Regions from separate parts of the Homo sapiens genome. Here all the other regions are linked to region 1. The links are contacts of gene promoters, found by promoter capture Hi-C in human tissues and cell types (Jung and others, 2019). All regions are on one chromosome and are shown on one strand. The core of a region is centred on a gene start or on the middle of the fragment in contact, and the rest is flanking DNA. Distances in the headings are between cores, read along the strand shown. Region 1 holds the start of SLC25A1 (solute carrier family 25 member 1). Region 2 overlaps COMT (catechol-O-methyltransferase). Region 3 overlaps TXNRD2 (thioredoxin reductase 2). Region 4 holds the start of GNB1L (G protein subunit beta 1 like). Region 5 has its middle 14 kb from the start of SEPTIN5.

Region 1 (2,588 bases), core at 28-2,527:
GGGCAGGAAGAGCTCTGCTCATTGTGGGCTTCCCCCTCTGCAGGCCCTGCCGTGGGCCCAGCCCCTGCCAGCTTCCCCTATGGATATGCCTCTGCTCCCAACTTCGCCAGCCTCCAATGTACAACTTCCGCGTGTAGTGGGCGTTGTCACCACCCACCCTACCTGCAGAGTTACTAACTTCTCCAAGGAGCATGTCACTCCAGCAGCACAGGGGACGCAATGGGAGGCAGGGACACCTGGACAATATTTATTTTTGCTGAAACCCAATGACGGCAACCTCTGAGCCATCCCAGAGCCTGGGGAGGCCAGGGTAGAGGCTGACGGCGCAAGACCAGCTTTAGCCGACAACAGAGACTGGACTGTGGGCCCTCCTGCTGGAGCCAGGCCTTCCTCCTGGGCGCCTCCGACTGGCTGGAGCTGCCCCCTCCAGGCCAGTTTGAAGACTACATGAACACGTCTTGTTTGGAGGTACCGGACCTCATAAAAGGACTCTCAGCCTCTTGGCAATCATAAATATTAAAGTCGGTTTATCCAGGCAAAGGTGCTCTGCTTGGTGCTGGTATGGGTAGGAGGGACGGGCCAGTTTCCTAGGCCCCGCAGTCCATTAAAGATTTGCTGGGTCCTCTTTGGGGTGTGGGACCTCCGTTGCCCAGACAAGCTGCCTAGGAGAATACAGCCGCTTGCATTTGTGGTCTTTCCTGACCTTGTTCGCTGAGCGCAGAAACTACAACCGGGAAAGGTGTGGGTGGGAACCGGCAGGTGAGGCCCGGCCCGTGGCTGCTGCGGGAGGGGGGCCCGGCGGCGTAGCCCCTTCTCACCGGCCTCCCGCCTCCCGCCTCCAGGTTTGAAACGTTAGAGTTCCTCTGGGACTGGGCTAGCCCCACGTGTTTTCGGGGAGGGTGTGCCCCTGGCCTCCGGGATCCCTGGGGATCCCGCCGCTCTCGACAGTCGCGCAGACCCGAGGCCCGCTATCCCGCGGCGCGGCACACAGTGCACCTTGACCCACTGCTCGGAGCTGGGCCACGGCTCCGCCTCCCGCAGCCCCGCCCCCGTCCCGCCGCTCGCGGTCGCCCAGGGACTCGGCCTCGGCCATTGGCTGCGCTTTGGCCCCGCCCCTACGCCTGCCTCGGCGCGCCCCGCCCAGGCCTCAGTTTCCCGGCCCGCACGGGGCGGGCTGGGGGCGGGGCCTGGCTCGGACCACGCGGGGCGGGACCTGGAGCTGACGCGGCCGCCCCGCCCCTGGGACCATAACCGGCCGCCGCCGCCACCGCGGACCGAGCGCGGAGTTCTGGAGTCTCGGACCCGAAGCCGCCACAGGGCGCCCCGCCTCCCGCCCGCCATGCCCGCGCCCCGCGCCCCGCGCGCTCTGGCGGCCGCCGCGCCCGCGTCCGGGAAGGCCAAGCTGACGCACCCGGGGAAGGCGATCCTGGCAGGTGGGCCCCTCCGGGACGCGGACCCCTCTCCCGCCGCGCTTCTGGGTGGGCCCGGGACGCTGAGGCCCCGCCCCACTTCCGGGTTGGGCCGTGGGCTGGGGAGTCGTGGAGGCGCGGTCCTGGTCCCCACCCGGCGCGCTGGGACTCGCCCGCCTCCCGTCTGTCACCCCCTGCGCCTCGCCGGGACAACGGGGTGAGGGCATGGGGGCGTGGGGCCCCAGCCTATGTTCCCCGCGGCACTGGCGCGGCGGCCGCGCCGACCGAAGTCCGGGACGGGGGAGGGGCCCGAGCGCCAGCGGCCGGGCGGGAGTCTCAGGAGCGGGTTCCCGGTCCCTGCAGGCGGCCTGGCGGGTGGCATCGAGATCTGCATCACCTTCCCCACCGAGTACGTGAAGACGCAGCTGCAGCTGGACGAGCGCTCGCACCCGCCGCGGTACCGGGGCATCGGTGAGGAGGGGGAGGCCGCGGCGCCGCGGGGGGCGGGTACCCAGGGCGGCGGCACCGAGGGCCGTGGGGTCCTGACCGCCCCCTCCCCCAGGGGACTGCGTGCGGCAGACGGTTCGCAGCCATGGCGTCCTGGGCCTGTACCGCGGCCTTAGCTCCCTGCTCTACGGTTCCATCCCCAAGGCGGCCGTCAGGTGAGGCCCGGCCGGTGGCTGCTGCGGGAGGGGGGCTCGGCCGCGGCAGCCCCTCTCACCCGCCTCCCGCCTCCAGGTTTGGAATGTTCGAGTTCCTCAGCAACCACATGCGGGATGCCCAGGGACGGCTGGACAGCACGCGTGGGCTGCTGTGCGGCCTGGGCGCTGGCGTGGCCGAGGCCGTGGTGGTCGTGTGCCCCATGGAGACCATCAAGGTGGGGAAGGTCCTGGCGAGGACCCCGGACACGCAGGGAGTACGGAGACGGGCGGCCCCGCTGGCCCGGTGCTCCCGGGGCAACCGGCAAGCTGGGGAGGGTCTCCTGGACGCCAGGGAAGGCCGGCGGGGTGACCGCGGGGCCCTGGGGCAGGACGCCTGCCACGAAGGGCCACCCGTGGAGGCTGAGTCTATGCTAAAGGCAGCCTTAAAGTCTTTAAAAAATACTTTTATAAAGCAGAAAACAAAATGACACCTTCACTGCCAAAACTGGAAAAGAGCAGCAAACATAAAGGGAGAGGC
Region 2 (2,588 bases), core at 48-2,547, 780 kb before region 1:
GGGGCAGCTCTGCTCGGCACACAGGTCCCCCACGGGGGCTGCAGAGGGCCCTACCTGGGGCTTGCTCAACAGGGCTGGAAACCCCCAGCAAAGGCTGGAACTGCTGCAAGAAGCCCTGCCCTTTGGGGCTGATCCGGTGTGATAAAGGGGGACCAGGATTCTGGCAGGGGATTCGACTGCGATCCAGTAATCCAGGGAGAGCCAGTACAGGTGCGTAGAGACAGGCCAGGCAGCACCAGGTAGGCCACACGCTTGGGCAGCGCCTGTGGACAGGCTGAGAGGACACCTGGAGGCCAGCCTGGGAGACCCCACAGGCTGCAGCCAGGCCCCGCGCTCATCTCTGGACCCAGGGGCTGGCCACTCACCTCCATCCAGCCTCTGGGAATCTAAAGGAATGACCAGAAGTTTAATGGCCACAAAATACCCATTGAGCCAGGCATGGTGGTGTGCCTATAGCTGCAGCTACTCAGGAGGCTGAAGTGGGAGGATTGCTTGGGCCCAGGAGTTGGAGGCTGGAGTGAGCCATGATTGCACCATGTCGTCCATCCTGGGCGACAGACACTGTCTCTAAAACAACACCACAATAAAAATGCCATCAAATCCAGATGGGGCCTCGCCTCTTTCTGGCAGCACTCTGGGAGTGTCCCCCTCCTGCCACTGTCTCATAACCCCCAGTACAAGAAGCTGTCATTTCTCCAACCTGCAGAGAGGAAGGAGGAGGCAGAGGACTAGCCTCTCACCCCGGTGACACCTGAGAAGAGGTGAGACAGTGCACCTGCTCTGGGCACCCTGCGAGGGGCCTACCTGCTATTTCTGTAAATGAAGCTTTATCAGAACGCACAATCAACCAGGCACGGTGGCTCACGTCTGTAATCCCAGCATTTTGGGAGGCTGAGGCGGGTGGATCACCTGAGGTCAGGAGTTCAAGAACAGCCTGACCAACATGGTGAAACCCCAGTCTCTATTAAAAATACACAATTAGCCAGACATGGTGATGCATGCCTGTAATCCCAGCTACTTGGGAGGCTGAGGCAGGAGAATCGCTAGAACTCGGGAGGTGGAGGTTGCAGTGAGCCGAGATGGTGCCATTACACTCCAGCCTGGGCAACAAGAGTGGGACTCCATCTCAAAACAAAACAAAACAAAAAACGCACAATTGCACAGACATTGTCCGTGGCTGCTCTCATCCGACCATGGCAGAGGTGAGCAGTTGCAACAAAGACTGCACCCTACATAGGGAAAGGGGCTGGTGTGGAAGGGAAGGGGTCAGAATGGAAGGTCAGATGGCCAGGCAGAGGGCAGCCTCCTGTAGCCTCCCCCGCCTGGTATCCTCAGTGGGGCCAGGCCCCCAGGCTCAGGGGAAGGCTTTTTTTTTTTTTGACTCAATACCTAATAGCTAAAGGGAAGGCTTTCACACGGACTGCACACCTGCTTCAAGCCAGGTGCTGCAGGGACCACGGTGACTTTGTCTTCACAGACACACCAAGAGGCAGATGCAAGGGCTGGGCTGAGAGAGGCAAGAGGCTGCACTGCACCTGCAGATTCACAGCCCCAGGGGGCCAGCTGGGCCATCCCTGCCTGTGGGGCCCCTCCACTCCTTTACTGTGGCCCCGTCGGGGCCCCCTCCCCTCCCTTCCATGGGCCAGACCTGCATGGTGGTCGCACATTCGCTTTATCCTTCAAGGGTGTTCTCCTGGTCACATCCGATTCTGCCTTGGCACCTGCTTGGAGGCCCCCTGCAGGTCAACCTGCTCATGTGGCAGGAGCTCAGTGTCCCGGCTCCCAGCAGAGGGCAGGCCTGGGGCAAGAGTGGAGGCTGGCTTGGCTCAGTGTGGAGGGGACAGAAAGGACAGGGGTGCCTTTAGGGAGGGGCAGAAAGGGCCTGGACATGCCTAGTGGGGTGACGTGCAGGCTGGCCATCTGCCCCGCTGGACTGAGCCCGGGAGCCTGCCCTGCCTGGGAATGGGGACTATTTTGGCAGCTGCTGAGTACTGTAAACAAAGCCGGCTGGGTGCAGTGGCTCACGCCTGTAATCCCAGCACTTTGGGAGGCTGAGGCAGGCAGATCACAAGGTCTGGAGTTGGAGACCATCCTGGCCAACATGGTGAAACTCTGTTTCCACTAAAAATGCAAAAAATGAGCCGGGCATGGTGGCGGGTGCCTGTAGTCCCAGCTACTCGGGAGGCTGAGGCAGGAGAATCGCTTGAACCGTGGAGGTGGAGGTTGTTGCAGTGAGTGGAGATAGTGCCACTGCACTCCAGCCTGGGCAACAGAGCGAGACTCTGTCTCAAAAAAACAACAACAAAAAAACAAAGCCCCAGCATCTGGACCAGGCTCTGGGCCAGGCCTGCATCCAGACCGCACTGGATGTGAGTGGAATCTGACCTCCTCATTGCTCTCCTCAAGGCTGAGTGGCAGCCCCACCCCCAGCGCCCAGGCCATGAGTCCTGAGGCCCACCGTGGCAGCAGCCTGGACAAAGACTCCCCCATCACACTCCGGCCAGGCTCCTCTGAGCACGTTTCTCGGCTGAGCCTCACCTTGGCCTATCAGGCCTTGAACAAACACTAACAAAGCTGCTGCTGCTTCA
Region 3 (2,588 bases), core at 47-2,546, 760 kb before region 1:
TTGTCTTCTTTTACAGTAACTTGAAGAGGTTTAGTAATTTTTTCACGTTTTGGACCGAGACCGAGTCTGGAAACAAACCCCATGTTTTCCATTATATGTTGACTGGGAGCACTGTAAAAGTTATGTGGAATATTAATTTCAGCCCCAATTTGTGCCAGCAAATCTCTGCCCCGAAGATTAATGGGGATGGGCATGATATAAGGCTGAATTGTTCCCTTTTGACCATCAGGGCCAGTGCAAGCCAAGATAAATGTGCTCTGGTGAACTTCTTCAGCTTTTCTAACACCTTCTAGTTTCATGTTAGTGGGATGTTTAAGCCAGGAGGAAGGCCATAAATTAGAGGAAATAATAGAAACATCAGCCCCAGTATCAACTAGGCCCTCAACCTTTTTTCCTTGAATGTGTATGGTGCAGGTAGGCCATTGTTTAGAAATTACATTAATCCAATAAGCGGCTTTTTCACCGCTGGAGCCCATCCCAGGGCCCCATGTCTTATCTCCTTTGTTTAAAACAATGTTAGGTAGTAAAAGTAATTGAGCAATTGACTCACTGGCCGGAATGGAAACAGGAACTTTGGCAGACACCATAAGTTTACATAAGTTTAATCTCATCAGAGGAATCAGAATTAATGAGACTAGTATGAACTATGATACCTTTAGTATCATGAGGTGGATGCCCTGCCTAACACCAGGCCCACCGAACCTTGAGGTAAAGGGCCAGTGACCCCCATGGGGACAATTAAAGGCAAAGAATTAGGTAGTAAATTTAGAGGAATGGTACTACAGAGATCGACCGCCCTGCTGCCTACTGTGGAGGTAGACAAGCATTGTACTGAGACAGAAGAAGAGGCTGGGACCCATCTGGATTGGCTGTAGGTAAATTTGTTTGTGCTGGGGGCTGCGTTGGGACTGCTTGACGCAAAAACACAACATTGGTCTGAGTCCGAGGTGTCCCATTTGATATTGGGGCCTGGGACTGGCCTTGCTTCCTGTTTCCCTGGTTCTGTGGCAAGGGATTTTCATCTATATCAGACTGAGTGGCAAGTACTTGCCCAATGTTTACCCTTACGACAACGCAGGCAAACAGTAGCAGGAGCATTTGGCCGTGTTTGTTGAGCCGGCTTGGCCGCTTTTAAGTTTTTAACAGTGTAGTTTTTTTGGGTATGACCAAGTTGGCCACAATTATAGCAGGCTCCAAGAAAAGAATCAGTCGAGCCAGTTTGGTTGCCGTGCTTCATGGCCGGTGCCCACAGAATAGCTCTGTGGGTCTCCGATCCAACGCCTTCACAAGCTTTAATATATGCAGGCAACACCTCATGATCAGGTAAATTTTGACGTAGGATGGAATGCACGGCCATTTTACACTCATGGTTCGCATTTTGAAAAGCTAACATATGAAGAAGAATACCTTGAGTGTGCTCATCAGAGACAGATTTTTCAACAGCATCTTGTAATTTAGCTAAAAAATCAAGATATAATTCATTGTGACCCTGTTTAACAATAGTAAAAGAAACAGAAGCTTGGCCTGGGGTGCGTAATTTATCCCAAGCTCTCATACACACCTTTGTTACTTGTTCCGTGGTGAGAGCATCAAAGCCTAAATGAGCAGTAGTATCAGAGTAATTATCGGAGCCTGTGAGCTGAGCCTGAGTAATTGGAATGCCATCAGCCCGATTTAGCTGAGCCTGCAGGCGGGCCTCCTCTGACCACCAGGTATGGAATTGTAAATGCTGAGATGGAGTTAGAACAGCTTTTGCCAAAAGGTCGCAGTCTATAGGAAGCAAAATGACCTCGGTACAAAGAGTCTGTAATACCGTTTTAACATATGGAGAAGTAGGAACATACTGAGTACAAGCATCCTTGAATTCTTTTAAAAAGGTAAGATTGAGCGGCGTATATCGACACACTTGTACCCCTTGAGCATTAGGAGGTTCCAGCATGACCGAATAAGCCCACGCCTCTAATCTACTTGTTTGTTTTGGCGTAATAAGCATTGCATGAAAGTTTCAAGAGCAGGCACATGAGATAGAGTCGGCATAGAAGTGACAGGAAAAGTATGTATAGATAAGAGAAACTGAGATTGACGGGGTCGGACTGGTATAAGAGTGTGAGAAAGGGGCATTGGGGGAGCAGAAGAGGCAGAAGCATACTGGTGATTACTGGCCCAGTCCTGCACAACCAGAGTGGCAGGGGTGTCCCTGCATGAAGAAGGGTACAGAGAAGCAGGTTGAGTGGATGGCAAAGTGACCGGTTGAGGGACCAAAATGATAGGAGGGTGAGGGGCTGTGGTGGATGGGGGAGGGCCTGCAGAATTACAGGTAAATTGTAGTTTGGATGGCTCCGGAGGCAAAGACTGTAAAGGTTTGGAGAGGGAAGAGTTAGCATAGATATGGTCCTGGGCTGTCTGAGTTGGGGCCGCAGGAGCTACAAGTGTCGGCTCTTCGTGAAAAGAAATAAGATCATCAGGGGGTGATGTTAAGCCAAAGTCACTGGAGTTAGATATTGAATCCTCAGTATCGTCAGGTGGGGGAGGAGTAGGCAAAGGGAGGGGCTGAGCAGATAATGAAGGCCGAGTGGGAGAGGAAAGCT
Region 4 (2,588 bases), core at 38-2,537, 680 kb before region 1:
TTCATTCCCACTTCAAGGAGGCGTTTCCTGGCTCGGTGCCACTTTTATTATTTTTGGCCCAGGCTGCTGAAAGCCCCACAGACCCAGGGAAGGTACAATGTGACCTTTGATTCGCGTTTCAGGGATCAAAGTGAGTGAGTTTGGGTGTAAATGCAGATAACATTTCAGAGAGCTTTCATGAAAGGAGTCACTGGACCAGGGCAGAAAGGGAGCTGGTGTGTTACGTGTGTGTTCCCCTTGAGAAGCGTCACTTTCCGGTGAATCCGGCTGCCTGCCCGTGGCCCCAAGGACTCCTGGCTTGCATCCAGGTCCTTGGCCCACAGGCATCAGATCCTGAGCTGGGGCGCCTGCACCCTCTCCCACCTCTTCTCTAGGCACCGTGAAGCCGAGGAGAGGTGGCGTGGGACGGCTTGTGCAAGTGAGAAGAGCACCACCACTTCATCCTCACCTATCTTGTCCCAGGATCTGGGTGCTGACTCGGCAGGCTTGGGCTGGGCACGGCCCTGTGGGGAGGGCTTGGTAGCCTGCCCTCGCTGTCGTCTCCGGGTCCAGCCTCGGCCTGAGTCGGGAAGCACACAATTATATCCACAACAAGGAGGCCCAGAGGCCCTGCCTGCAGCCCCCAGGTATGCAGGTAGAGGGTCCTCTCGGACTGCCTGCCCCCTGCCTCTGGCGCCCAGCCTGCAGCTACGTCGAACCGGGCCCTAACAAGGTTCCCCGCACTGGCAATGAGTGATGAGAGGCACTCCGCGGGCACGCCGTTCCAGGGCGCTCACGAGGCCCAGCAGCCCCGCTATGCCCACATCCACCCCGACACCTGCAGCCCCCCAGGCTTAGCCCGGCCCCGCAGCAGCCCTCTCGACGCCCAGCAGCACCCCAGTGTCTGGCTGACGCCAGGGCAGTAACGGCGGGCTGAAGCAGCATCGGCCCCTCGGTCTACGCCACAGCCGGGTGCAGATTTCCCGGATCTGAGGGACCGCCGGGCACCGTCCGCTGGGGATCATGAGGGGCAGCTTTGGCCCGACCGTCTCGCGCCTGTACACGCGGCCCCACCTGATCCCGTGGCACTTGGCGCGGCGTGGGAATGGGCGCGCTCTCCCATCACCCACCGCGCGGCACTGCCGCGCCAGCAGGGACCGGGAGAGCCTGCGAGGTAGCGGCCACACGGCATACAGCGCAGGCGCGGCCTGGATGGGAGGAGCGCGTGGAGCGTGCCGGGAGCATGCGCCGGGTCGTACACGGCGGCCGCGCGCACGCTGGGGGCGTGGCTGCGCGATGTAATCGGTCTCTGGACGCTGCGCGGCGCTCCTAGGAGCAGGCGTTCCCGACTCCGGCAAGAGGGTCAGTGTGGAGGCGGGAGCCCGGGCGGCCGGCTTGAACTCCGTGCACGCGGGCCTGGAGCTGCGCCCCTGCGTCTTTTCCCGACTTCTGATCCGCAGAGGGGCACTCGGAGCCCCAGCCTGGGTCGCAGTGCCTTCGGTCTGCGGGCCTCAGTTTCTCGGTCCGCGCCGGGGGTTTGTGGGGGCACCTGGAGACATTTGGGCCGTTCTCGCAGTCTCGGGAAGCCGCGCCCGCTCCTTGCCTGGCCTCACGGCGGCCGATCTCGTTCTCCACTTTCTAGGTGGCGCCTGGACTCTCGCCCTCAGAGGGAGGCCCGTCCCACGGTCTGTGGCTACGGATCCCAGGACCCTCTTCGCGGGCGATTCGCGTAGCCTCAGGTGGGTGGGCTTCTTGTTGCCGTGGGCCTTGTGAGCTCGTATTTCCTGCATGGCGGTTGCTGGGGGGCGGGCGGTGCAGTCGTCTGCACTCAGCTTGCTTTAAGGCTTTGGGCAGGTTTTGTTCTTGGGGCTCCTGGGTCTCCCCAGAGCAGAGAACGGCTCCAGCGTTCCAGGTGCTGCCTTTGGCCTTGTGGGGGCAAACACACATGCGCCGTGGTACCTGCCCCTTTAGGATAGTGCTGTCCAGTCTAGAAGGGCCGAAAGTCTTCTATGCCAGGCAGTGTGGGGAGAAAAGTAGGGGGACCAACAGACTGATAGGCGTGGGAGGGCTAAGGTTCTCAAAATGGTGAGAGTGCGGCCCAGGGTTAGGAAGGCTCAGGCCCAAAGCAGGCCTGGCTGGCTGGTGCAGGGAAGCCTTCTCCCAGACTGCAGGGGACACAGGTGCGCAGGTGAGTGGGCAGGGTAGGGGACTGGGAAGAAGGGAAGGCAGAGATCTGGGTAGCACACTGTGGCTCCCGGGCATGGGGTGTGGTCATTGTGGGCAACCTGGATACCTAACCTTGGCTGGTGGTGGGAGCTGGGCCCTGGATCGGGGTCACTGCTTTTTTAGAGCTCAGTGAGGGACTGGACTGGACTCGACTCACGTCCAGGCCTTAGTATAATCCTGCAGTAAGGTGGGAAGCCAGGGTCATGGGCTGGGCTTTCAGGTGAAGACCCCCCCCCCAGAGGGGGGTCAGACCTGAGGGATTCCAGAGTGTTTGGGTGGTGGAGGTAGGGCCAGTGGCCCTGGCAGGTTCTAGTGCTGCAGGCCACCCTGGGAGGTACCTGGAGGAACTCACCCTGAGGGGGGATGGCCAGCAGATAGGAGAT
Region 5 (2,588 bases), core at 40-2,539, 520 kb before region 1:
TCTTGGATATATCTTTTGCAACTGTTTTCTCCTAGTCTGTAGCTTGATTTTTCATTCTTGTAACAGAACCACTTTTAACAGAGAAATTTTCACAGAGCAAAAGTTTTAATTTTAATGGAGTCCAGTTTATCAATTTTTCTTTTTATGGCTCCTGCTTTTCGAGTCAAGTCTAATAACTCATTCCCTAGCTCTAGATCCTAGAGATTATTCTCCTGTATTTTTTTCCCTGAAAGTTTTATAGTTTTACATTCTAAACTTCAGTTTATTATTCCTTTTTTTTTTTTGAGATGGCATCTCTTTTCTTTTCTTTTCTTTTCTCCTTCCTTCCTTCTTTCCTTCTTTTTCCTTCCTTCCTTCCTTCTTTCCTTCCTTCCTTCCTTCCTCTCTCTCTCTCTTTCTTTCTTTCTTTCTTGAGTCTTGCTCTGTCACCCAGCCTGGAGTGCGGTGGCACGACCTCGGCTCACTGCAACTTCTGCCTCCTGGGTTCCAGAGATTCTCCTGCCTCAGCCAGGCACCCACCACCACTCTCAGCTACTTTTTGTATTTTTAGTAGAGACGGGGTTTCGCCATGTTGCCCAGGCTGGTCTCGAACTCCTGACCTCAGGTGATTGGCCCACCTCGGCCTTCCAAAGTGCTGGGATTACAGGCATGAGCCACTGTGCCCGGCCTGTCATTCTATTTTGAGTCGATTTTTAAATAAGATGTGAGATTGAGGTTTCTGGTTTTGTTTTTGTTTGCCTATTGATATGGTTTGGCTCTGTGTCCCCACAAAATCTCATGTTGAAATGTAATCCCCAGTGTTTGAGGTGATGGTTGGATCATGGGGGTGGATTTCTCATGATTGGTTTACCACCATCCCCTTGGTGGTGTTCTTGTGATTGCGAGTGAGTTCCCATGAGATCTACTCATTTAGAAGTGTTGGCACCTCCCCTAGCTCTTGCTCCTGCTCTGCCACGTGAAATGCCTGACCCCCTTCACCGTCAGCCATGGTTGAAAGCTTCCTGAGGCCTCCCAAGAAGCTGAACAGATGCCACCACCATGCTTTCTGTGAAGCCTGCAGAACTGTGAGCCAATTAAACCTCATTCCTTTATATATTGCCCAGTCTCAGATATTCCTTTATAGCAATACAAGAATGGCCTAACACATCTATATATGTCCGGTTGCTTCAGCACCATTTGTTGTATCCTTTCTTCATTGAGTTGCTTTTGAACTTCTGTCAAAAATCACTAGGGACACGCCCGTTCTCCCAGCACTTTAGGAGGCTGAGGTGGGAGAATTGCTTGAGCCCAGAAGTTCAAGACCAGCCTGGGTGACATGGTGAAATCCCATCTCTACAAAAAAAAAAAAAAAAAAAAAAAATATATATATATATATATATATATATGAAAAATTAGCTGGGCGTGGTGGTGCACACCTGTAGCCCCAACTGTCTGGGAGGCTGAGGGAGAGGATCACTTGAGCCTGGAAGGTCGAGGCTACAGTGAGCTGTGATTGCACCACTGCACTCCAGCCTGGACAACAGAGTGAGACCCTGTTTCAAAAAAAAACCCCAAAAACCCCAAACCAAAAAAACCTATCATGTTGTAAACCTCAAATATACACAATAAAATTTATTTTTAAAACATCACTAGGGCATGTTTATATGGATCTATTTCTGAGTTCTCTACTGTTTCACTGATCTATGTGTCCACCCTTCTGCTAATCCCATATAGTTTTAAATACCATAATTATGGAATAGGCCTTGAGATCAGGCAGATTGTTTCTTCTCACTTGAGCAAGTTGAAGAATATAAGATTGACATACAAAAACCAACTGTGGCTCGATGCCTCATGCCTGTAATCCCAGACCTTTGGGAGGCTCAGGCAGGAGGGTCATTTGAGGCCGGGACATTGAGACCAGCTTGGTCAACATAACGAGATCTTTTCTCTACAAAAAATAAAAATAAAAAAATTTTAAAAATCAATTGTATTTCTTTAAAAATGTAGTATCATTGGGCTGGGTGCAGTGGCTCATGCCTGTAATCCCAGCACTTTGGGAGGCCAAGGTGGGCGGATCACGAGGTCAGGAGATCAAGACCATCCTGGCTAACATGGTGAAACACCGTCTCTACTAAAAATATTTAAAAAATTAGCCAGGCATGGTGGTGGGCACCTGTAGTCCCAGATACTTGGGAGGCTGAGGCAGGAGAATGGTATGAACCCAGGAGATGGAGCTTGCAGTGAGCCGACATCACACCACTGCACTCCAGCCTGGGTGACAGATAGAGACTCCATCTCAAAAAAAAAGAAAAAAAGAAAAAAAGAAAAAAGCAGTATCATTTATAATCTCTCAAAAAGTAAAGTGCTCAGGTGTTAAATCTAACAAAACATGGGTAGGATTTTTATGCTGAAAGCAACAAAATGTGGATGAAATAAACCAAAGAATATCTAAATAAAGAAAGAGATACACCATATTCATGGATTAGAAGACTCAGTATTGTAAAGATGTCAGTTATGCCCAAATACATTCCTATACATCAAAATATAAAAATATAAGCCAGGTTTTTTAGTGGATATTCAAATAGTCATAAGACTATTCTAAAATTTAT

What was found. The method cuts DNA at HindIII sites, captures the fragments that hold promoters and counts their contacts. A contact is called where the count stands out against the background at its distance.
Region 2: a contact is called between a fragment that was not itself captured here and the fragment with the promoter of SLC25A1 in region 1, in 1 of the 25 tissues and cell types used here (dorsolateral prefrontal cortex).
Region 3: a contact is called between a fragment that was not itself captured here and the fragment with the promoter of SLC25A1 in region 1, in 1 of the 25 tissues and cell types used here (spleen).
Region 4: a contact is called between the fragment with the promoter of GNB1L here and the fragment with the promoter of SLC25A1 in region 1, in 2 of the 25 tissues and cell types used here (dorsolateral prefrontal cortex and lymphoblastoid cells).
Region 5: a fragment that was not itself captured here is called in contact with the fragment with the promoter of SLC25A1 in region 1 in 2 of the 25 tissues and cell types used here (dorsolateral prefrontal cortex and stomach).

Annotation. Positions count from the first base shown.
Region 1 is chr22:19,177,425-19,180,012 of GRCh38, reverse strand. SLC25A1 (solute carrier family 25 member 1) reads left to right here and starts at 1,277. Exons shown (of 9, transcript NM_005984.5): 1 at 1,277-1,433; 2 at 1,773-1,880; 3 at 1,972-2,071; 4 at 2,148-2,286. The coding sequence starts at 1,340. CLTCL1 (clathrin heavy chain like 1) reads left to right here. Exons shown (of 33, transcript NM_007098.4): 33 at 44-540. RefSeq lists silencers at 681-780, 981-2,060 and an enhancer at 1,232-1,979. The HindIII fragment of the contact is 9,906 bases long and covers 1-2,588 here.
Region 2 is chr22:19,953,010-19,955,597 of GRCh38, reverse strand. The region is part of intron 1 of COMT (catechol-O-methyltransferase); the gene reads right to left. Among named protein-coding and RNA genes, the nearest start is that of MIR4761, 9.4 kb to the left of the region's middle. RefSeq lists enhancers at 173-824, 1,089-1,710, 1,711-2,334. The HindIII fragment of the contact is 3,711 bases long and covers 1-2,588 here.
Region 3 is chr22:19,936,266-19,938,853 of GRCh38, reverse strand. The region is part of intron 1 of TXNRD2 (thioredoxin reductase 2); the gene reads left to right. It overlaps LOC124905081 (endogenous retrovirus group K member 24 Gag polyprotein-like), which reads right to left. Exons shown (of 2, transcript XM_047441689.1): 2 at 865-2,588. The coding sequence starts at 1,993. The coding sequence ends at 1,028. Among named protein-coding and RNA genes, the nearest start is that of COMT, 4.2 kb to the left of the region's middle. The HindIII fragment of the contact is 4,369 bases long and covers 1-2,588 here.
Region 4 is chr22:19,853,573-19,856,160 of GRCh38, reverse strand. It overlaps GNB1L (G protein subunit beta 1 like), which reads left to right and starts at 1,287. Exons shown (of 8, transcript NM_053004.3): 1 at 1,287-1,341; 2 at 1,622-1,718. RTL10 (retrotransposon Gag like 10) reads left to right here and starts at 1,287. Exons shown (of 3, transcript NM_024627.6): 1 at 1,287-1,501; 2 at 1,622-1,718. LOC124905080 (a long non-coding RNA gene) reads right to left here and starts at 1,189. Exons shown (of 2, transcript XR_007068005.1): 1 at 449-1,189. RefSeq lists enhancers at 277-756, 2,179-2,588. The HindIII fragment of the contact is 26,560 bases long and covers 1-2,588 here.
Region 5 is chr22:19,698,756-19,701,343 of GRCh38, reverse strand. No RefSeq gene overlaps it. Among named protein-coding and RNA genes, the nearest start is that of SEPTIN5, 14 kb to the left of the region's middle. The HindIII fragment of the contact is 4,442 bases long and covers 1-2,588 here.